Linked DNA regions of Homo sapiens: regions 1, 2, 3, 5, 6 and 7 are each linked to region 4. Evidence: promoter capture Hi-C in 16 types of primary human blood cells and fetal thymus (Javierre and others, 2016). All regions are on one chromosome and are shown on one strand. Each heading gives the region's core, a stretch centred on a gene start or on the middle of the fragment in contact. The rest is flanking DNA. Distances are from core to core; before and after follow the strand shown.

Evidence for each region. Contacts are between HindIII fragments. The CHiCAGO score rates a contact against its expected background, and 5 or more counts as called.
Region 1: a fragment that was not itself captured here is called in contact with the fragment with the promoter of PSMD6-AS1 in region 4 in 1 of 17 cell types (megakaryocytes); the score reaches 6.5 in megakaryocytes.
Region 2: a fragment that was not itself captured here is called in contact with the fragment with the promoter of PSMD6-AS1 in region 4 in 1 of 17 cell types (monocytes); the score reaches 5.8 in monocytes.
Region 3: a contact is called between a fragment that was not itself captured here and the fragment with the promoter of PSMD6-AS1 in region 4, in 1 of 17 cell types (megakaryocytes). The highest score is 5.0, in megakaryocytes.
Region 5: a fragment that was not itself captured here is called in contact with the fragment with the promoter of PSMD6-AS1 in region 4 in 2 of 17 cell types (total CD4 T cells and total CD8 T cells); the score reaches 5.9 in total CD4 T cells.
Region 6: a contact is called between a fragment that was not itself captured here and the fragment with the promoter of PSMD6-AS1 in region 4, in 1 of 17 cell types (megakaryocytes). The highest score is 5.0, in megakaryocytes.
Region 7: a contact is called between a fragment that was not itself captured here and the fragment with the promoter of PSMD6-AS1 in region 4, in 1 of 17 cell types (megakaryocytes). The highest score is 7.5, in megakaryocytes.

What each region holds. Positions count from the first base shown.
Region 1 is chr3:64,231,939-64,234,638 of GRCh38, forward strand. It overlaps a transcript of PRICKLE2 not described here. Among named protein-coding and RNA genes, the nearest start is that of PRICKLE2, 7.8 kb to the left of the region's middle. The HindIII fragment of the contact is 1,947 bases long and covers 408-2,354 here.
Region 2 is chr3:63,784,707-63,787,406 of GRCh38, forward strand. It overlaps the pseudogene CDHR18P and a transcript of C3orf49 not described here. Among named protein-coding and RNA genes, the nearest start is that of C3orf49, 33 kb to the right of the region's middle. The HindIII fragment of the contact is 3,853 bases long and covers 1-2,700 here.
Region 3 is chr3:64,214,931-64,217,630 of GRCh38, forward strand. The region is part of intron 1 of PRICKLE2 (prickle planar cell polarity protein 2); the gene reads right to left. Among named protein-coding and RNA genes, the nearest start is that of PRICKLE2, 9.2 kb to the right of the region's middle. The HindIII fragment of the contact is 947 bases long and covers 820-1,766 here.
Region 4 is chr3:64,010,694-64,013,393 of GRCh38, forward strand. PSMD6-AS1 (PSMD6 antisense RNA 1) reads left to right here and starts at 1,271. Exons shown (of 2, transcript NR_189168.1): 1 at 1,271-1,349. PSMD6 (proteasome 26S subunit, non-ATPase 6) reads right to left here. Exons shown (of 8, transcript NM_014814.3): 7 at 185-262; 8 at 1-71. PSMD6-AS2 (PSMD6 antisense RNA 2) reads left to right here. Exons shown (of 3, transcript NR_038286.1): 3 at 1,104-1,550. The HindIII fragment of the contact is 1,623 bases long and covers 375-1,997 here.
Region 5 is chr3:63,809,876-63,812,575 of GRCh38, forward strand. It overlaps the pseudogene CDHR18P and a transcript of C3orf49 not described here. Among named protein-coding and RNA genes, the nearest start is that of C3orf49, 8.1 kb to the right of the region's middle. The HindIII fragment of the contact is 5,082 bases long and covers 1-2,700 here.
Region 6 is chr3:64,171,421-64,174,120 of GRCh38, forward strand. The region is part of intron 2 of PRICKLE2 (prickle planar cell polarity protein 2); the gene reads right to left. Among named protein-coding and RNA genes, the nearest start is that of PRICKLE2-AS3, 15 kb to the right of the region's middle. The HindIII fragment of the contact is 1,850 bases long and covers 335-2,184 here.
Region 7 is chr3:64,197,687-64,200,386 of GRCh38, forward strand. PRICKLE2 (prickle planar cell polarity protein 2) reads right to left here. Exons shown (of 8, transcript NM_198859.4): 2 at 1,098-1,281. The coding sequence starts at 1,241. PRICKLE2-AS3 (PRICKLE2 antisense RNA 3) reads left to right here. Exons shown (of 4, transcript NR_046702.1): 4 at 1,023-2,700. Among named protein-coding and RNA genes, the nearest start is that of PRICKLE2-AS3, 11 kb to the left of the region's middle. The HindIII fragment of the contact is 5,343 bases long and covers 1-2,700 here.

The DNA of each region.
Region 1 (2,700 bases), core at 131-2,630, 220 kb after region 4:
AAAAACAAAAACGAAAACAAAAACAAAAACCAGGTGTGTTCCCATTAGGGTGTGAAGTGTGGGAAATAATGTGTTATTAAAAACAGAAAAACACAGAAGGTTCCCTGTGCCATCAGATTAGATCAATTCCTTTGTACAAGGGAAGAGTACATAGAGTGTTGCACTCTTAGATGTGTGTCCTTTCCCTTAGGACTCTCATTCTGGTTCACAGTTCTACATCCTTGGTTAGTTATGATGATCCATCCTTGGTCAATGTTAACGATTATGTGATTAACCTCTCTCTCTTACTAACCAGACTCTATGTGGCCTAAGAGCAGAGACCATGCCTTTTGTGGCTCACCATTCTATTCAAAGGATCTACTGCTTTGTGGCCTGACAGCTAATGAACATTTTTGGAATTAATAAAAAGCTTGACAATGCTTCTTCTAATCTAGAAATTAGAGGAATTTCAGGATTATTCCTGTAAGAATACCTCTCTGTTCATTTGCATTCCAACATACTCTTGTGAGTGGGAAAGGAAAGGATGGAGTTCAGCTCACTGAAACACTTCTTAGCTTTGCTTCCAGGATGCCACATTCTCCTGCTTTCCCTCCTACCCTCTGGCTGCTCCTTCTCAGGCTCTTTTGCTGGCTCATGCTCATCTCCTTCAGAGCTTAATGCTGGAGAACCTGCGGCTAAGTCCTGGGACTCCTGTATATCTACATTTGCTTCTCTGGTCTAGGGTAGGGTCTTAAACACACCTTTAGGCTGATGACTCAAGGCGAGACCTTTTCCATGATCTCAAGACCAACTGCCTATGTCACATCTCCATCTCTTAATTCCCAGTTGAGTCCACACCATATCCCCCACAATCTGCTCCATCTGTAGTCTTTGCTATCTCAGTTAATGGCAACTCCACACTCCCAACGGATGAGAACAAATACCTTTGAGCCATCCTTCACCCCTGACATCTAATCCAGAGGAGGTTGACAAACTATATCCCACAGGCCAAATCTGGTTTGCTTCACGTTTTTGCAAATACTTTTATTGGAACACAATCATGACCATTCATTATGTGCTATCTATGGCTGCATTCATGATACAATGGCAGGGTTGAGTCATTGTAACAGAGAACGTACAGCCTGCAAAGCCTAATACATTTACACTCTGGTCCTTGACACTGAACATTTTCCAGCCCTTGGCAAATCCCGTTAGCTCTACTGTCAAAATATACACAGGATCTAATATCTTTCCTCCACCATCATCACACTGGTCCATGCCACTGCCATTTCTCTCCTGGATGAAGTTCCAAGTCACCATCAACTCTTGCCTCCTACCTGGTCTATTATTGCTCCCCTTCAGTCTATTCACAAAACTGCAGTCATCTTGATTCTCTGAAAACAAACATTGCAGCATGCCATGCTTCTGCTCAAGACTACACTGGTGATGCTGCTCATCTCAGAATAAGTCCCTGGAGATCTAGGTCCTATTGCTTCTCCGACACTATCTCCTGCTACTGTCTCCCTTCCTGTCACATGAACACTGGCCCTCAAACATGCCAGGCACATGTGTGCCTCCTGGTCTTTGCACTTGTCTGAAATATTCCTCCTGCAGAAAGTCATGTGGCTTGCTCTGTCACTATTTCAAGTCTAATGTCACCTTGGTGAGGGCTAAGTCTTACCATCCTATCTGAGATTGTCATCCTTCCCGCATCTTACTAACATGGCCAAACAATTCCCTACTTTATTTTTCTCCTTAGATCCTTTTAAGAAGAGTTATATTGAAATATAATTAATATACTATACAGCTCACCCATTTAAGTATATTCATAGGGTTGTACAACCATCACCACAATCTAACTTTAAAACTTTCTTCAATCCAAAAAGAAACCCTCTAGTAAGCAGTAGTCACTCCCCACTTGTCCCACTGCTCCAGGCCTAGGCAAACACTAATCTACTTTCTGTCTCTATAGAGTTGCCTATTCTTGACATTTTATATTAGTGAAAACATATAATATGTGGCCCTTTGTGCCTGGCTCTTCACCTAGTGTATTTTTGGTTCATCCTGTAGCTTATATCAGAATTTCATTCTTTTTATGACAGAGTAATATTCCATTGTACTAATATACATCATATTCATCTATTCATCAATTGATGGATATTTGGGTTGTTTCCAGTCTTTATGATTATAAATAATGCTACTATGAACATTCACGTATAAGTTTTTGTGGGGATGCATGCTTTTTATTTTCCTTGGATACATATCTAGTAGTGGGATTGCTGGGTCGTATAACTCTAGGTTTAACATTTCATAGAACCATCAAGCAGTTTTTCAAAGTGCTCCTCCAGTTTCACATTCTCACAAGTGATATCTGAAGCTTCCCATTTCTTCATCTTTGCCAAAACTTGTTACTGTCTTTTTTATTATAGTCATCCTAGTGGGTATGAAGTAATACCTCATAGTGGTTTTTATTTGCACTTGCTTAATGGCTAATAATGTTAAACATCTTTTCATATGTGTGTTGGCTATTTGCATACCTTCTTTGGAGAAACGTATATTCAAATTTTTTGCTCATTTTAAAATTGGGCACACGTGTTAAAATTAGTAAGTTATAAAAGTTCCTTGTATATTCTGGGAACATGTCCCTTATTAGATATATGATTTATAAATGTTTTCTCCCATCATGTGGGGTATATCCTTTTTCTTGATAGTGTCTTTGAA
Region 2 (2,700 bases), core at 89-2,588, 230 kb before region 4:
ATTAACCGGGCGTGTGACACATACCTGTAATCTCCCAGCTACTCAGGAGGCTGAGGCAGGTGAATCACTTGAATCCAGGAAGTAGAAGTTGGATTGAGCCAAATACGCACCACTGCACTCCAGCCTGGGCGACAGAGTGAGACTCCATCTCAAAAAAAAAGTGAAAGTGTTAGAAAGGCTAATTGCTTTCTTCCTTCCTTGCTGTCATCAACCCTCCAGCATTCAGCTAGACCCCAGGTAGCTTGAATTCTTTAATGCTGCAGATCTCGTCTAGTTTTGAACTCCTAATCTGTTTCACTGAGAGGTAATCTCATATGATGTGTGGGCCCCTAGTCTCCACTGGACTTCTCTTCTTCTTCTTTTTTTTTTTTTTTTTTTTTTTTTGAGACAGTGTCTTGCTCTGTCACCCAGGCTGGAGTGCAGTGGCGTGATCTCGGCTCACTGCAAGCTCTGCCTCCTGGGTTCACGCATTCTCCTGCCTCAGCCTCCCGAGTAGCTGGGACTACATGCGCCCGCCACCATGCCCGGCCATTTTTTTTGTATTTTTAGTAGAGACAGGGTTTCACTGTGTTAGCCAGGATGGTCTTGATCTCCCGACCTCATGATCCACCTGCCACGGCCTCTCAAAGTGCTGGGATTATAGGCGTGAGCCACCGTGCCTGGCCTCCACTGGACTTCTCTTCTAAAGATGCTAACACTTAGGATATATCCCATCCTCAGCTTTCATAATAGAAAAGAATATCTTATCAGATTCAGGAGCAATTTGATTGGAAAGGTTTAAAGGTCCATTTCCTTTTCCTATGAAGCACATTGATGCAGAACATATGACTGAAAAGGGTGTTCATAAAAATCACTACAAAAATAAAAATAATAACTTGAACCAGTGGCTACCCACTTAGGAGATGGCATGTGTGTGCATTAACTTTTTAAAGATACTGTATTACACGGTGAATGAATTTGGTGTCACAGGTATCCAGAGAGGAGTATTCACCTACTTCCACAGCAGGATGCAAATGCCACCCCCAAAATAATCGTGGCTTCACTCTGAAAACAGGATGATGCAGAGAGGAGCCCCAACAGCCAAGTCTAGCATCAACCAGCCACCATGCAACTATCTGTTAAGTAATGATTTCATTAAAAAAAAGAAAACCACCAAAAGCATCTTAATTTGGGGAGCACATCAAGGCCAGATGAGGGAAAATATTCATGAAAAGGGAAATACGAACCAAAGAACTGGCATTCCAAATGAAAACCCAGTAGTAGTATTTACCTTCTAGATTCACTTTCAAAATCAAAAACTGCTGCTGTGGAAATTGTTCCGATGCTGTCAATTATAAAGCCAGAGCCCTCCGGGGAAATGAAGTACTGTTTATTGGACAGTAAAGAGAAAGCAAAATATTGCAGATACATCAACTACTTCCCTGGCCTGATTCCACGCATCTCTAAAAACCAGGCGTGAAATCTCTTTGTGCTCTGAGCCCATTCCCACTCCCCTGACCCCCCTCCCCTATACATGATAGACGCTCAGTAAATGTTCGTAACTGATGATGATGATGATGAAGTTATATTCCATTCAACCAATTTCAAGTTTCAATTCTTTCAAGTTTCTATTCTTGAAAAATTTCTATTCTTTTTCAAGAATAGAAAAATGAATTTTCCTGTTCTCTTATGTTCAGTATGTTATCTGAACATTTCTCACAACACTTCCCCCAATGCTAAAATTAAATAAAAAGGAGTTTACATTTAGAGAAACATGCTGACTGTTTAATGAGAACTCAGGGATAATTTTGTTTGTTTGCTTGTTGATGGAAAGAATGGGCTTTTATGTGGAGGGAGGTCGTGGAGCTAAAGAAGGAAAAAAAATATGAAATACTCCGACGTCTGTTCATCTGAATTTGTATGTGTAGGCACAGGCAATATTTTATCAAGTTGTTTTCTTAACCTGTCTTTGATTTTCATTTATACTGCCTTCCAGTTGCTCTGTTAAGTGCTTCAAACACGTTGTCTTTTAATTCTCACAATAACTCTATGTCATAGGTACTGATATTATCCCTATCTCACAGATAGAAACACAGGCTTAGAAATTTCAAGTGGCTTGTCCCCAGTTTGAGAGCTGAGTGTTTAGTCACTTTACATCATGTCTCTCTGTTCTCCACATTTTATCCCTAAGATAAACTTCTCGAGAAAGACAGCAGTGGAAGTCAGGGTCTCTCATCTAGGTGAGAATCAAATGACCAGAAAAATCCAGGGCAAAAATCCATAAGAGAATTAATATCAAGAGTTCATTACCCTGAGTGCTATTTACTTAACAATTGTGTAGACACAGAGATCATTTAATAGAGAAGATTAAGCCCAGAAGAACTGCAAAGCAACCTCAAAATCTTTTGGAGAAATGAGTGACCTTTTAATTTATCGACTTTCTGATGAATCATCATGTTCTGATTCGTTTTAATTCATACCATCCATTTCCATATATGTAAATGAGATGGACTTGATTTCTGCTCTTTCTGTAGAACAATGTAGAATATTAGCATTCAGGAACACAGGCAAATCCATTACATATTTACTTTTACGTCAAACACGGGAATAATAATGCTTATTTCATGGGGAAAGGAAGAAAGGCAGTTGTGGTTAAATTACCTGAGAGCACTCACAGACACTGGGTCTGGTTATATATAAATATATATGATTTTTAAAAGA
Region 3 (2,700 bases), core at 43-2,542, 200 kb after region 4:
TTTACCACCTCTATCTTTACTATCCTACTCCAACTCACCATTACCTCCTGCTTGAGCTACTACAATAGCCTACTTCTTAATTTCCTGCCTCCATGCCTGCCCTTCTAGAATCTAATTTCCACCACCGTTTGTTTTTTAAACAATGATGATAACACTCAGCTCTCCTGCTTAAAATGTGCCATTAACTTCTGACAACAGTGAGAATGAAGCACAAACTCCTTAACCATAGCCTACAAGACCCTATATAACCTGGTCTGTTCCTCTCTCCCCAAATTTATTTTGTTCTACTCTATTCCCCATCTTGTTCCAGCCTCAGCAGTCTTTATTTGTCCTTTGAATTTGCCAAGGCTTTCCCTCTCTTAGGATCTTTGCAGCAGCTGCTCCTCGGCCCAAAACACCCTTCCCTCAGTACTTCAGGAGCTGGTCTGCTTTTCACTATTCCCATCATCAACCAAAGACATCTTTTCCTTAACATCAGACGCCATTTTATTTGTTGGTGTGTCTAAAATACCTTTTCCCATTGTAATGTAAATTTTAAAATCCTTTATCTAGAATAATAAGCATTCAATAAGTAGCTCTTTGAAATTTTGACTAATACTTAGTCTGAAATCTAACTGCAACCAGTGAGCTACTAACAAGATATGACCAAAGCGTAAATTTTATTTTTCATATTTATTTTTTTACAATAACTGAAAATGTATATTGCTACAATGATGTCAAAAATGTAGAATGTGATTCAACTACATGACGAGTAGTGTTTGGCCAAGATCACATTAAAGAAAGACTGCCTTTGTCCTCAATTAAATGAAAGTATGCAAAAGCTTAAGATGAGGTAGAGAAAAATATATTACAGCTGACAATGTACCATAACTATAGTGTAGTAATTTAATTCTGTTACTGTACTGCAAAATGTCAAGTATTTGAAAGAACGCCTCAAGTACAGAAATACTGAAAAACTCTGGCCTAGCACACAGCAAATGTTCAAAAGGTTGTTAAACTGTTGAGTGAACAATAAAAACTATCTGAGAGATAGAAGGAACAAGAACTCCTATGGCCTTGGCATCTGAGACCACGACCGTCAATTTACTCATCTACAGAATGGAAGAAAATCAGGTAACTCTCTCCTTCTAGCTCCGCAGGGTTTAACATTAGCTCCTGGGTAATCATGTAGAAAAATGCTGCATTTCTCTGGGCTATCTGCTCTGGGGCAGAAAAACATTATTTTTTCCAGTCTCACATTAACCTGTAGAGATTTCTCTGGATGAGTTTACAACAACCTACCAGCCAACTTAGCAGTTTTAAACCTTTCGGGTGACTTGATGCCCTTAAAATCTGATGAAAGCTGGGATCCTCTCCCTTAAAAAATGGACATATGCACATTCACAGAAAATTTTGCATTAAATTTCAGAAAGTTCATCAATTCTGTCCAGTCCTTTGCTGTCCAGGGATCCTAAGCTAAAAACATCTGGTTTGGAAAACTGGTTAAGTGCAAAAGACCGGCTGTGATATTTTAAACTACCCACAGGGCCAAAGTCAGCGCCTTACATCTCGCAGATGCTCAATTGCTATTTCTCACTCTCTGTAACATTCTTTTAAAAATTCAAAATAGCACATGATATCATAGTTACCATTTAGGATGCTGCATCTTAGCAATTCAGTGGTGCAGGATTTAAAACCATTTTTAAGCATTACAAGGGCAAACAACGTGAGTGTTTAGGCAGCTGGTTAGGCAGCCAAACTGACACAGTGAAAAGAAGGCAGGTTCAAGCTTTCTGATCAGTCAGGCCCTGTGATTATGCTGCTTTCTACTTATTCCCCTTTCAGAAGCCAGTCTAGCAAGAATCGAAGCTCCTGTTGAGAGAGGAGCACGTGAATTCTTTGCTGTGCATTTTCACCCTCCTTCCTAATGAGGCAGGCACTTCGGAGTGGCCCAACCTCCACAGGATGCAAGGGTGGGGGTGTCATCTTTCCAGTCCGTGGCAAGCTTCTAGTCTTGACAGGCTTTCCTGGCAACTTCTGAGATGATGAACTCAAAAGCAAGTAATAGACTCAGGCAGCGATTTAAATGAAGTTCTGACTCTTGCTGGATAAGCTGTCAGGGGAAGGGGAGAGCTGTAGCTGAGGGCTATGCAGTTGCTGTGCCAGGAGCACGCACTTCATATCCCCTGACTACCTAACCAATGGCTGGACTGCCAGGAGGATGCCTACAGAAAACAGCCCCTTGTAAAGGAGGTATTCCTCTGACAGCATCACAGCAGGAGACCTGGAGAAAGACCCTACATCACTGGTACTGAAAAGGGACAGGAGCCCTAAGGTATTAATCAGAATAAAAGGATGTATATTACAGAGAAAGAAAGAAAAAAAGACTATTAAAACTTTAATTTACCAAAAATTAAACTTTCTTTTTAATTTGTATAAATTTAGGGGGTACAAGTGCAGTTTTGATACATGGATATACTGCATAGTGATGAAGTCTGGGCTTTTAGTATATCCATCACGTAAATAGTGTACATTGTACCCATTAAGTAATTAACTAAAACTTTCAGTAAGCCTGCAGAACATTCACATTCGTAAGAACGAATAAAATACAGAGTAAATGGAAAATAGGGTTTCATTCCAGCACACTTAGGCTATTGGTAGGTGTTCAATACGTATTTACTAAACTGGAAAGAGAATCAACTTCCAGGGGGTATCCAAGGG
Region 4 (2,700 bases), core at 21-2,520:
TTTGAACTCTGTTTAGTAGCAGATCTCCTTTCTTGATAGTTTCTTGGTACTGCCAGTTCTTGCTATCAGGTCTATAAATAAATTCAAGAAAAAATGAATTATTTACCAGTCACATTATTCCATGACAATAGTTGACCTACTTTTAAAATTTAGGAATGCCCCTTATTCTGAGAAATGAGAGTACCTGTTGGTTTCTACTATTTCATTCACTTTATCTATTTTGCAGTGTAGTCTCCCGGCAGCAATAAACCTGGACAGTTCCCTAATTTAGAGACAAAAAATAACAGAATTAGCTTTATAGAAAATTCTTAGAAAAATGCAAACGGCATTAAAATACTGTCTTAAATTTGTAACAAACATTTAGCTTCCCTTCAAGCTTGTTATTGCACATGCAGTAGTTGACGTTGTCCCTCCTATACTGCAGGCTTTAAGTCATCATCTACTAGAATAAACATGATCCTAGAAGTTCATATTCAGATAGATAGAAAGTAGATCAAACAATGAAACCATATGTACTCAGAGAAAAACTGTAGGTTAGGAAAAATTAGGGACCAAAACTGATAAAAACAGTAAACTGTTTCAAACAAAAGACCTAAAACAAAATTATGGAACACAGCCCATCAGTAAACATGTCAACAGCAATAGTATTAACATGTCAACAGCAATAGTATTTACTAAAACAACGACCCTTTCCCTCTCTAACATATCTTAGTCTAAACAAGTGGAAGGGAAGGGGAGAAATGATGTAGAATTATTGCTTTGCCCATTTTAAAAAAGGGGATTTCATCTAAAATGTAACTTTTTAAGGGAGAAAAAAAGAATAAAGAATCCATGACAACCCAGATTTGAAATTCTTAGGTATCACAGAAATTTAAAACAAGGCCTTTTTAGGTAACAACAACTAGAGCTCAGTGGTACAACCTTTGCCTCTCAAGCTGGTCTTAGAACATGAAGGGAAAAAAAAAAAACTGAACAAATACTACCTGAATTCAACTACTACCTGAAAGGTACCAGCTGCCTTGCATTCACTTGTCATCAAGATGACTTAAGGAATACTGCGGTGTGTGCCCCTAACTAATGAAGGCTTTATCTCCACATTACAGTTACGATACTGAAGAGACGTAACCTGACCAAGGCCACAGAGCTGGAAAAAGAAGCAAAGCCAAGCCGTTTTTCTCATGCACTGCTCACAACAAGCCCCTCCTTCCACTGACTCATGAAAAACACACTCATAATGCCCAGCCCGCACCCTAATGAACAGCCCTCTTAAGAGTGGTCATCAGACTTCAATTTCACAGACTAGAATTGAGAAATGGAACAAAACCTTGGGATACCAGCCTTCCATTTTGGTAGGGATCATTTAAAAAATGGTAGGGATCATTTAAAAAATGTGTTGGTGTCTGAAACTTACTTTGAAGTGGTTAAAAAACATAAAATGTATAGATTGTAACAAGCAAATATGTTAAAATGTACTGTACAATTCTTTCTTTACAATTTTATGGATGTTCGAAATTTAAAAAATACTAGAAAGAGAATGGTCTTATTTAAAAGAAATGCATCTTCATTTAAAGTTTCCACTGCAGACCATTGAAAACACCATCATCAACATTTAAAAACACCTACATGTGGGAGCCACTGATCTAGATGCCATCTGGACATCCCATATTGAGTATGTCTCCTACCCAACTCTACTCTCACCACCCTCGTCCACGCCACGGTAACATCTCCTCTAAGAGCTACTAAACAGCACAACTGGTCCTCTCTGCCACCTTACTCTATTTCTTATATAAAGACACTGCATAGGACCATGTAACTTGGGCTCTAAATCTTCCAATGGCTCCCTATCAAACTTACTTAAAACTCAAGCTCCATCCCATGACCTACAAGGCCCTACACAAATCATTACCTACCTAACTCTCCATATATTATCCTCAAAATCTCCTACCACTCCAACTATGCTGGAGCCACCCTGACATTTTCTGTTCCTACAACATCCAAGCTTATTCCTGGCTCAAAGCCTTAGCCTTTTCTATTCCCTTTTCTGCACGCAGAAGGACTCCATATGGCTGACTCCTCTCAATTCAAATCTCAGAGCAAACCTCACCTCCTTAAGCATGCCGTACGTAAGGATAGCATTTTCTCATCTCCATAGGTTCATTTCTATATGTGAAATTACGTTTTATATTTATTTGCTTCCTTGCCATCTCTTCCCTACTACTACAATGAAAGTGTGAAAAGGGAGCTGTAAAACAATACCAAACATATAGTAATGAATGGCTCATTAAGTATTTATTTGTTTAATCACTGATGCAAGTACTAAAAGTCCCACATTTAACAACCAATCTGACCAGAATTGCAGCAGCAACCTAAAAACTGGAAGGAATTATCAGAGGGAATATGACCAACTGTAAATATCAGATCTAAGAGTCATTACCGTAGCTGCAGTGTGGTCTACAAAGAAGTAACAGAAGACAACTTTTGATAACAACTGGTCTAATGACCTTTAACAAATCACTTAGCCTCACTACAACTCATCTTCCCATCTGTTAATGCAAGGGGCAGACATGACATGAGGAAGGCAGAGGCAACAGGATACGAATGTTTTGATAATACTGAGGAAAAAAACCTCTCCCCTCCCCGTTAAGATTGAGGGAACCAATGTAAACAAGTAAAAAATTGTACAAGTTCACATATTTTAAA
Region 5 (2,700 bases), core at 106-2,605, 200 kb before region 4:
AGTGGCTCATGCCTGTAATACCAGCACTTTGGGAGGCTGAGTCAGGTGGATCACTTGAGGTCAGTAGTTCAAGACGAGCCTGGCTAACATAGTGAAATCTCATCTCTACTAAAAATACAAAAAATTAGCCGGGGCATGGTGGTGCCTGTAATCCCAGTTACTGGGAAGGCTGAGGCAGGAGAATCATTTGAACCCAGGATATGGAGGTTGCAGTGAGCCGAGATCACACCACTGCAATCCAACCTGGGCGACAGAGCAAGACACCATCTCAAAAAAAAAAAAGTCATGGCAAAAACCGCAATTACGTTTGTGCCAACCTAATATAATGTCACTATAGCAGAGAGGTCTTCTCAGGCCAAATAAAAAAATTTCCCACCCCTGCAGACACTTCCTATCTCTTAAAATTTCACATATTATTTGTTCATTTTTTTGCCTCCTCCCTATCCCCCTCCCACTTAAAATACAAGTGTCATGAAATTGGGAACTTTCATCTGTTCCTCGCTGTATGCTCAGTACTAAGAACAGTGTCTGTCCATAGTAGGCACTTAATAGAGATTTGTGGAATGATCAGGTGAATAAATGAATACATAAAATGATCCTTTTTTGCTAACTGAAGTATATCAAGCCTATTGACCTATGGGTCAAGACCTTATTATTTCGTGACACGGAATGCACTTGAAAACTTGCTACTACATGTCATTTTGTTGGTTCGGATTCTCTATTCAATTCCACAGGTTGGGCCATGTCAATGACGGCTTATATCTGTATTCGATGGTGTCTTGTTGCCATTGCATTAAAGAGTGAATTGATTTTAGGTTTTTCTTCAATATATTTGCATGAGCTGAGAAACTTGGGAATAATTTGGTTTTCCACTAAAGGTATATTCTGAAAAACAATCTCAATCCCTTAACATACGATAATCTCTAGAAAAGGGGATCATAATTTTCCGAGAATATCAACCCATCCACCAAACTGGTTTTGTTTTGTTTGAGACAGAGTCTCACTCTCTCACCCAGGCTGGAGTGCAGTGGTGCGATCTCAGCTCACTGCAACCTCCACCTACAGGGTTCAAGAAATTCTTGTGCCTCAGCCTTCCGAGTAGCTGGAATTACAAATGTGCACACCACCACACCTGAGTAATTTTGTATTTTCAGTAGAGATGAGATTTTGCCATGTTGCCCAGGCTGGTCTCAAACTTCTGACCTCAAGTGATCCGCCTGCCTTAGCCTCCCAAAGTGCTGAGATTGCAGGTGTGAGACACCATATTCGGTCCAAACTGTTATTTAAGTAAGCAGGGCTGGCATTTTATTATGCATTTCCTGTTAAAATAGTTAAATAAAAAACTCTTCACTTTCTGAAATTAAGTCAATAACTAAAAATAATAAAAATAGAGCCAGGCACGGCCAGGCGAGGTGCCTCGCACCTGTAATCCCAGCACTTTGGGAGGCCGAGGCGAGCGGATCACGAGGTCAGGAGATCAAGACCATCCTGGCTAACACAGTGAAACCCCATCTATATTAAAAATACAAAAAACTAGCCGAGCATGGGGGCGGAGGCCTGTAATCCCAGCTACTCCGGAGGCTGAGGAAGGAGAATGGTGTGAACTCGGGAGGCGGAGCTTGCAGTGAGCCGAGATCATATCACTGCACTCCAGCCTGGGTGACAGAGCAAGGCTCTGTGTCAAAAAACAAAAACAAAACAAAAAAAAAAACAAAAAAAAATAGAGCCAGGCACACTGGCTCACACCTATAGTCCCGACTACTTGGGAGGCTGGGGTGGGAAGATCACCTGCGCCTCAGTTCAACTTGGGAGGTATAGCAAGACCCCTTCTCTAGAATAAAATAAAAAGAATAAAAATAATCATAGGCTCATAGCTGTATTACAAAGACAAATTGTGAAAAAATAGAGAATGCTATGTGAAAATGCTGGCATAGAATGATGGAAACTGAGATGCTGCCTCTTCATACTCAAGGACAAGAGGAGATTAAAAAAAAAATTGATCTCCAGAAAGACAGAACCAATAGAAAAAATATATTAAAAATAAAATTAATTTAAAATTAAAAAAAAAAACTAGTTGAACTCTGTTCATGGAGATTGTAAAATAATGCCTGACAGCTGGTGTAGAGCACTGGGAGTGGTAGCGACTGCGGTAAACTGAGAACTTGTTCCCACCCAACTGGGGTGCCACTCCTCTGCCTATCTGGGAATGTGGGCTGAGTTGCCAGGGACTCTTATTTTTTTATGAGGATCCTGAAATGGAAATTTTTATGTGAAATCTTCTGATATTCAAAATATCCTGTAGGCCAGGGTTGTCCAATCTTTTGGCTTCCCTGAGCCACAATGGAAGAAGAAAAATTGTCTTGGACCACACATAAAATGCACTAACAAAAATGATGGCTGATGAGCTAAAAACATTTTTTTAATCACAAAAAAATCTCATAATGTTTTAAGAAAGTTTATGAATTTGTGTTGGACCACATCCAAAGCCATCCTGGGTCACCTGTGGTCCACGGGCCACACGTTGGACAAACTTGCTATAGGCCAAACATGTCTGAGCATCTCCACTGTGTGTCTCCAGATTCAAGATAAAAATCTTTACCCAAACACATAAAAAAGTCAAAATATAACAAACTAAGTTGAAATAAAATATTTCTTACATTTCATTAGATCTTTCAGTCCTTAAGATACCTATCATTTATC
Region 6 (2,700 bases), core at 10-2,509, 160 kb after region 4:
AAAAGATCCCCATCAAAATGCCAACAGTGCTGAAACTGATAAACTCTTCATCTGCTTTTTGTCAAAGAACTTATCAGTTGTTGACAAATGATCTATTTGTTTGTTGACTTTCTCTTCCCTCTAGAATGTGAGTACTTAGGACTGTGTTTGCTGTATACCCCCAGAAGAGGGTCTGGCATGTACAAGATACTCAATAAGTGTTTGTTGAATGGATGCATGCTGTATTCAAATCTTACCTTTCTAGCTGTCTGGGTTATTAGAGGATCTAGACAGACACATACAGCAAGAGAATAAACAAGCGAGATTTCAAGAGGAAACAGAGTAAAACTCATTAAGCTTCTCTTTCATTCCATCAAAGCATTTGCTTTTTTCACCAAAGATTAGTGCTGTGGGGTGGGTGGAGATGCTAAGTAAAGGATGCATGGAATAACTGTCAATATACTGTTTATTTCAGAGGAAGTGACAAAAGCGACACCCATTTGTATTTGAAGCCAGAGAATTTCTTTCAAGTTGAGTTAACTTCGTTTGAACAAACTAAGGAAAATAATTATGTTATGCCCTAAGCCGGTACCATAATTCAGAATCACATGAGTTGCTTTGCTCCTATGCCTGTTAGTTCTCACATGACCACTCTTTCCAACCCTGTTTATTATTTTATTTAGAATATTAAACTTCAATGTTTTGTTAGAAAATACATTCCATTTAGTTTGGAGCATTATCTGACATTTATTTTATCTTGTGTTAAAGAAAAGGTTGCAGAAATGGAAGAACTTGGGGTTTGAACATTTTCTACTTAAGCTACACTTAAATAGACTCCCTCATCCCAATTTTATCAAAACACCCTTTGCAGATTGTCTACGCATTTGCGTATATGCCCTATTAAAAATTCCCCAACAGTTGCTAACTTCATTTGACAACAGTTTCAATACTGCCTTTAGATAAAATACACACATACATAAGTATGAAAAAAGAAGGATGGCAGTTTCTTATAGGGGTAACTTGTTTGGACTCTGCAGTCAGATTGTTTGGGTTCCAATAATGGATGTAACACTTACCATCTGCATGTAGTTGGGCAAGTTATTTGATCTCTTGTAGAAAGTTAATATCTCCATCTGTAAATTGGGGACAATAATATCTACCTTGAAGCATTAATAAGAGGCTCAAATGATATCGTGTAACTAACAAAGAGAGAGGCACAGGCTGAAGGCTCTATATTTCTTGGCTTTGAAGCAGTCTAATGCATAATTCATAAATGTCTATGTTATAAACAGAATTGTGTACCCCCTGTGATTCACATATCAAATCCCTAACCCCTATGTGTGACTATATTTATAGATAGGGCCTTTAAGGAGGTAATTAAGATTAAATGAGGTCATAAGGCTGGGGCCCTATTCAATAAGACTGGTGTCCTTGTAAGAAGAGGAAGAGATAACCAGGAGCATGCACAGAGAAAAGGCCATCTGCAAGCCAGGAAGAAAAGCCTCACCAGAAATCAACCCTGCTGACATCTTGATCTTGAGCTTTTGGACTCCAGAACTGTGAGAAAATAAATTTCTGTTGTTTAAGCCACCCAGTCTGTGCTATTCTGTTATCTGTGATACGCAAGTGTAAGGAACTGTTGAGTGCTTGTGGGGAAAGAACACACACATGAATGGGAAACCACCCCTAGGTGGAAAGAGGTTATATTTGGCAGAGGGTATAAGACAAGTAGACAAATGACTACAATACAAAGTTAAAATAATGCAAAAGCCATAATAGGTAGACAAAAACACTACAAAGATTCAATAAAAAATAAGTTAGGTACTGATTTGTAGCATTTGCCAATTTCCATAGGGTATGTGATCCCACTATGAATCCCACATTCAAGCTACCAATGTGATGTCATCGGATGTGGAACTGGGAAGAGCTATACATAGCATACCATCACACAGTACTCCCACTATACAGATATAATAGGCAAAACAGTCTCAAGAACATAGATAACAGTGGAATAGGATAAATTAAATAGGAAGTGATGAATTTCAAGTATTTATCATCTTTAAAAAATATAATTTATTTAATTATAAGTTTATATAATTAAATTTTCATAATGGCTGTATTTAACAATGGATTTACAAAATTCCTGAAAACTGACCAATTGGCTCTTGCAAGGCAGTATGAGGCCGGCTCTAGCATTCTGTCAGAAGCTTAAATGGCCAGTATCCTTGGCAAATTCTCTTTTAAAAAGTAAAAAGAGCAGTAGAAGAGCTGTAAATGAGATTAAACAGCTAAAGAGCACTTTGAAGAGTACGATGACAACTGATCTGTTGCCCAACTCTGTCTTCAACGGTCCCAGCAAATCACACATTAAGCCAAGTTGTCTATCTCAGCTGACACATACTTCAGAATAGTCACAGCTCTTCTGTCTCCCAGCCTTTTCCGAATCTCCAGAATTTTGCCCTTTCTCTAAACCACGCTTTTCTTTTCTCCCTCCTGTCTCCTTTCTAAACTCCCAGGAATAATAAGAACTGATGAACACTCACAATTATTTATGTATTGGCAGGTGTTTTGTTTTCTCAAAGTAAAGAGGATGTGAGTTAAACATAGTGTAGTTCCCCATGAAGAAGAAAAACAACAACAAAACCCCCTCCCAAACCTTAATAAAACTCCTTTTTTATGCTAGTACGTTGTTATCAAACTGTGTTCTAGTAGGTCAGTGAT
Region 7 (2,700 bases), core at 4-2,503, 190 kb after region 4:
GGGCCCTACCACAGAGTGAAGGCTGGGAGGAGGGAGAGGGTCAGGAAAAATAACTAATGGGTACTAGGCTTAATATCTGGGTGATGAAATAATCTGTACAACAAACTCCCATGACACCAGTCTACCTGTGTGACAAACTTGCACATGTACCCATGAACTGAAAATAAAGTTAAAAAAAAAAAGAATTTTCCCTAAAAGCATTATCACACCTAAAGTTTCCAAGTTAAAATTTCAAGGGCTGATGGCCGGGTGTGGTGGCTCACGCCTGTAATCCCAGCACTTTGGGAGGCCAACACGGACGGATCACGAGGTCAGGAGATCGAGACCATCCTGGCTATCATGGTGAAACCCCATCTCTACTAAAAATACAAGAAAATTAGCCAGGGGTGGTGGCGGGTGCCTGTAGTCCCAGCTACTCGGGAGGCTAAGGCAGGAGAATGGCGTGAACCCGGGAGGCAGAGCTTGCAGTGAGCCAAGATCGCGCCACTGCACTCCAGCCTGGGCGACAGAGCGAGACTCTATCTAAAATAAATAAATAAATAAATAAATAAATAAATAAATAAATAAATAAAACAAAAAAAATTTCAAGGGCTGTTTAAACTTTAAAACGTTTTTGTTGGACATAGAGAAGATGTCCTGAGAAAGAAATTTTATGTGTCAGAGGAAGTCAACAGTGGTCAAACACTTCAGATTCTGGCACTTCAGATTCTCACAGGAAACATCATGAAAATACCCAGCTTATAAAAGAGCTTCTTAAACAACATGGGGCTGGTAGAGGAGAAAATTTGAAGTACCAAGAAATACAAGAGGCTGTATTTCACTGAGAAAAATGTGGTACACCTCTGAGATGTTTCTAGACAATCCTGGTAACAGTTAATAATGACAATACAGAATGAATTAGCAATGGATCACTCCTGGCTCAATTTCATTTCCCTTCCTCATTTTCCACTGGGGCCCCTGGCATCTTCAACATATTTAGCCCTACCACTTCTCTGAATCAGCAAAGTCTACTCTTCCTACAGAACTGGAATGAGGAAGGACCAGTAAGGCAAAGTGAAACACCCAAACCACCAGCATGCTCCCATCCAGAATGGTACCTGTTCAGGCTTCAGACCCGGCGGGACCCAGGCATACTCTTCCAAAGCACAGCCTGAGTCATCATCTGAGGTCGAGTTCCTCTGAAAGTCAAACATGAGTTTGCTGATGGTCTTCTCCATCTCCAGCGGCATCACTGTCACCATGTGCTCCTCCTGGGGACACTTGCAGTGCAGGCAGATCTTCCTGCAGGCAGTAAAGGTAGAAGGTGAGAAAGAGGAAAAAACCTTTTTTTTTTTCCAAGAGCCTGCCAGTCACTAGCCCCTGGATCCCAAACCATAAACACATTCCTTGGCAATGGGCATCGGGCAAAGGCATCGCGAGCAGTGTTCCAGAACATGACTGTCTTTGCAGAGGGCGTGGTACACGCATGTGAAAACAGCATGAAAGGTCAGAGGCCACCAGGTAAGCATGCTAAGGGTGTTTACATGTGGACCCCAGCCTTCTCTTCTAAATCAATACCCCAAGAGGAATGGTAATATAGTTTTTATTTTACTAGGTAGACCACTGGATATGGCCCATGACCACAATTTCCTTGACTGCAATAGCAATTAAATATACATAATACATATGTTGACCTGAAGTGTTACTTGTAGATTTAACAAATACTGACAACATACTGCTTTTATAAAAGGTTCCTAAGCCCTGGAAAATGGAGAAAATGGTTTTAAAAATGCAGGTAAAATGTTCTTTAAGAAGAAGAGCAAACATACATATTTTTTCTCATGAAACGTATCTGGCCCTAAGATCTCATAGGAAAGACAATTTCACCTCCATTAAAGATCCCTGTAGGTTTGGAATTCTAATTAGAAACCCAAATTTTCCCTATGTTGGTGGGGTTTTTTATATACAAGAAGATCATGCATGTGAATTATTTCAAAAGGTAGCAGCCAAAGATAAAAATCTCCCAAACTGAACATTTCTCTTTTAAGGTTACCATCTGTTCTCTTATCCATAGCTACAGAAATGATGAAGCAATAAATATGTTGATGTCAGCAACACAAAAGCATTTCTAGCTTCCACCAATAAAATAAAAAGAGAGAAAAAAAGAATAGAGGAGGAAAATTTTAAGGAAATAAGTTATTCCATGTTCACTCTTTTTAAAATTATTAGTTTCCGTAGCACCTTATAAAGGTGATAAAAGAGCCCAGAATTTTAATCCCCAGATGTGCCTGAACGTTCTGATAACAGCTTTGTGAAGATACAATGTACAAACCATAAAACTCACCATTTCAAAGTGTACAATTCATGGACTCTTAATACATTCGGAATTGTGAATCATCACTATCTAATTTTCATCCCCTCCCCAAAAGAAACCCCAGGAGCATTGGCAGTTATTTCCCATATCCCTCTGCCCCCAGGCTCTAACAACCACTAATCTATTTTCTGTCTCTATGGTTTTGCCTATTTTGGACATTTCATATAAATGCAATCATATAATATGTGGTTCTTTTGAAGTTGGCTTCTTTCACACAGAATGACTTTTCAAGGTTAATCCAAGTTATAGCATGTATCAATCCTTCATCCCCTTTTATTGTTGAATAATATGCCATTGTATAGATATACCACATTTTCATTGATCAGTTGTGCACATTTGGACTATTT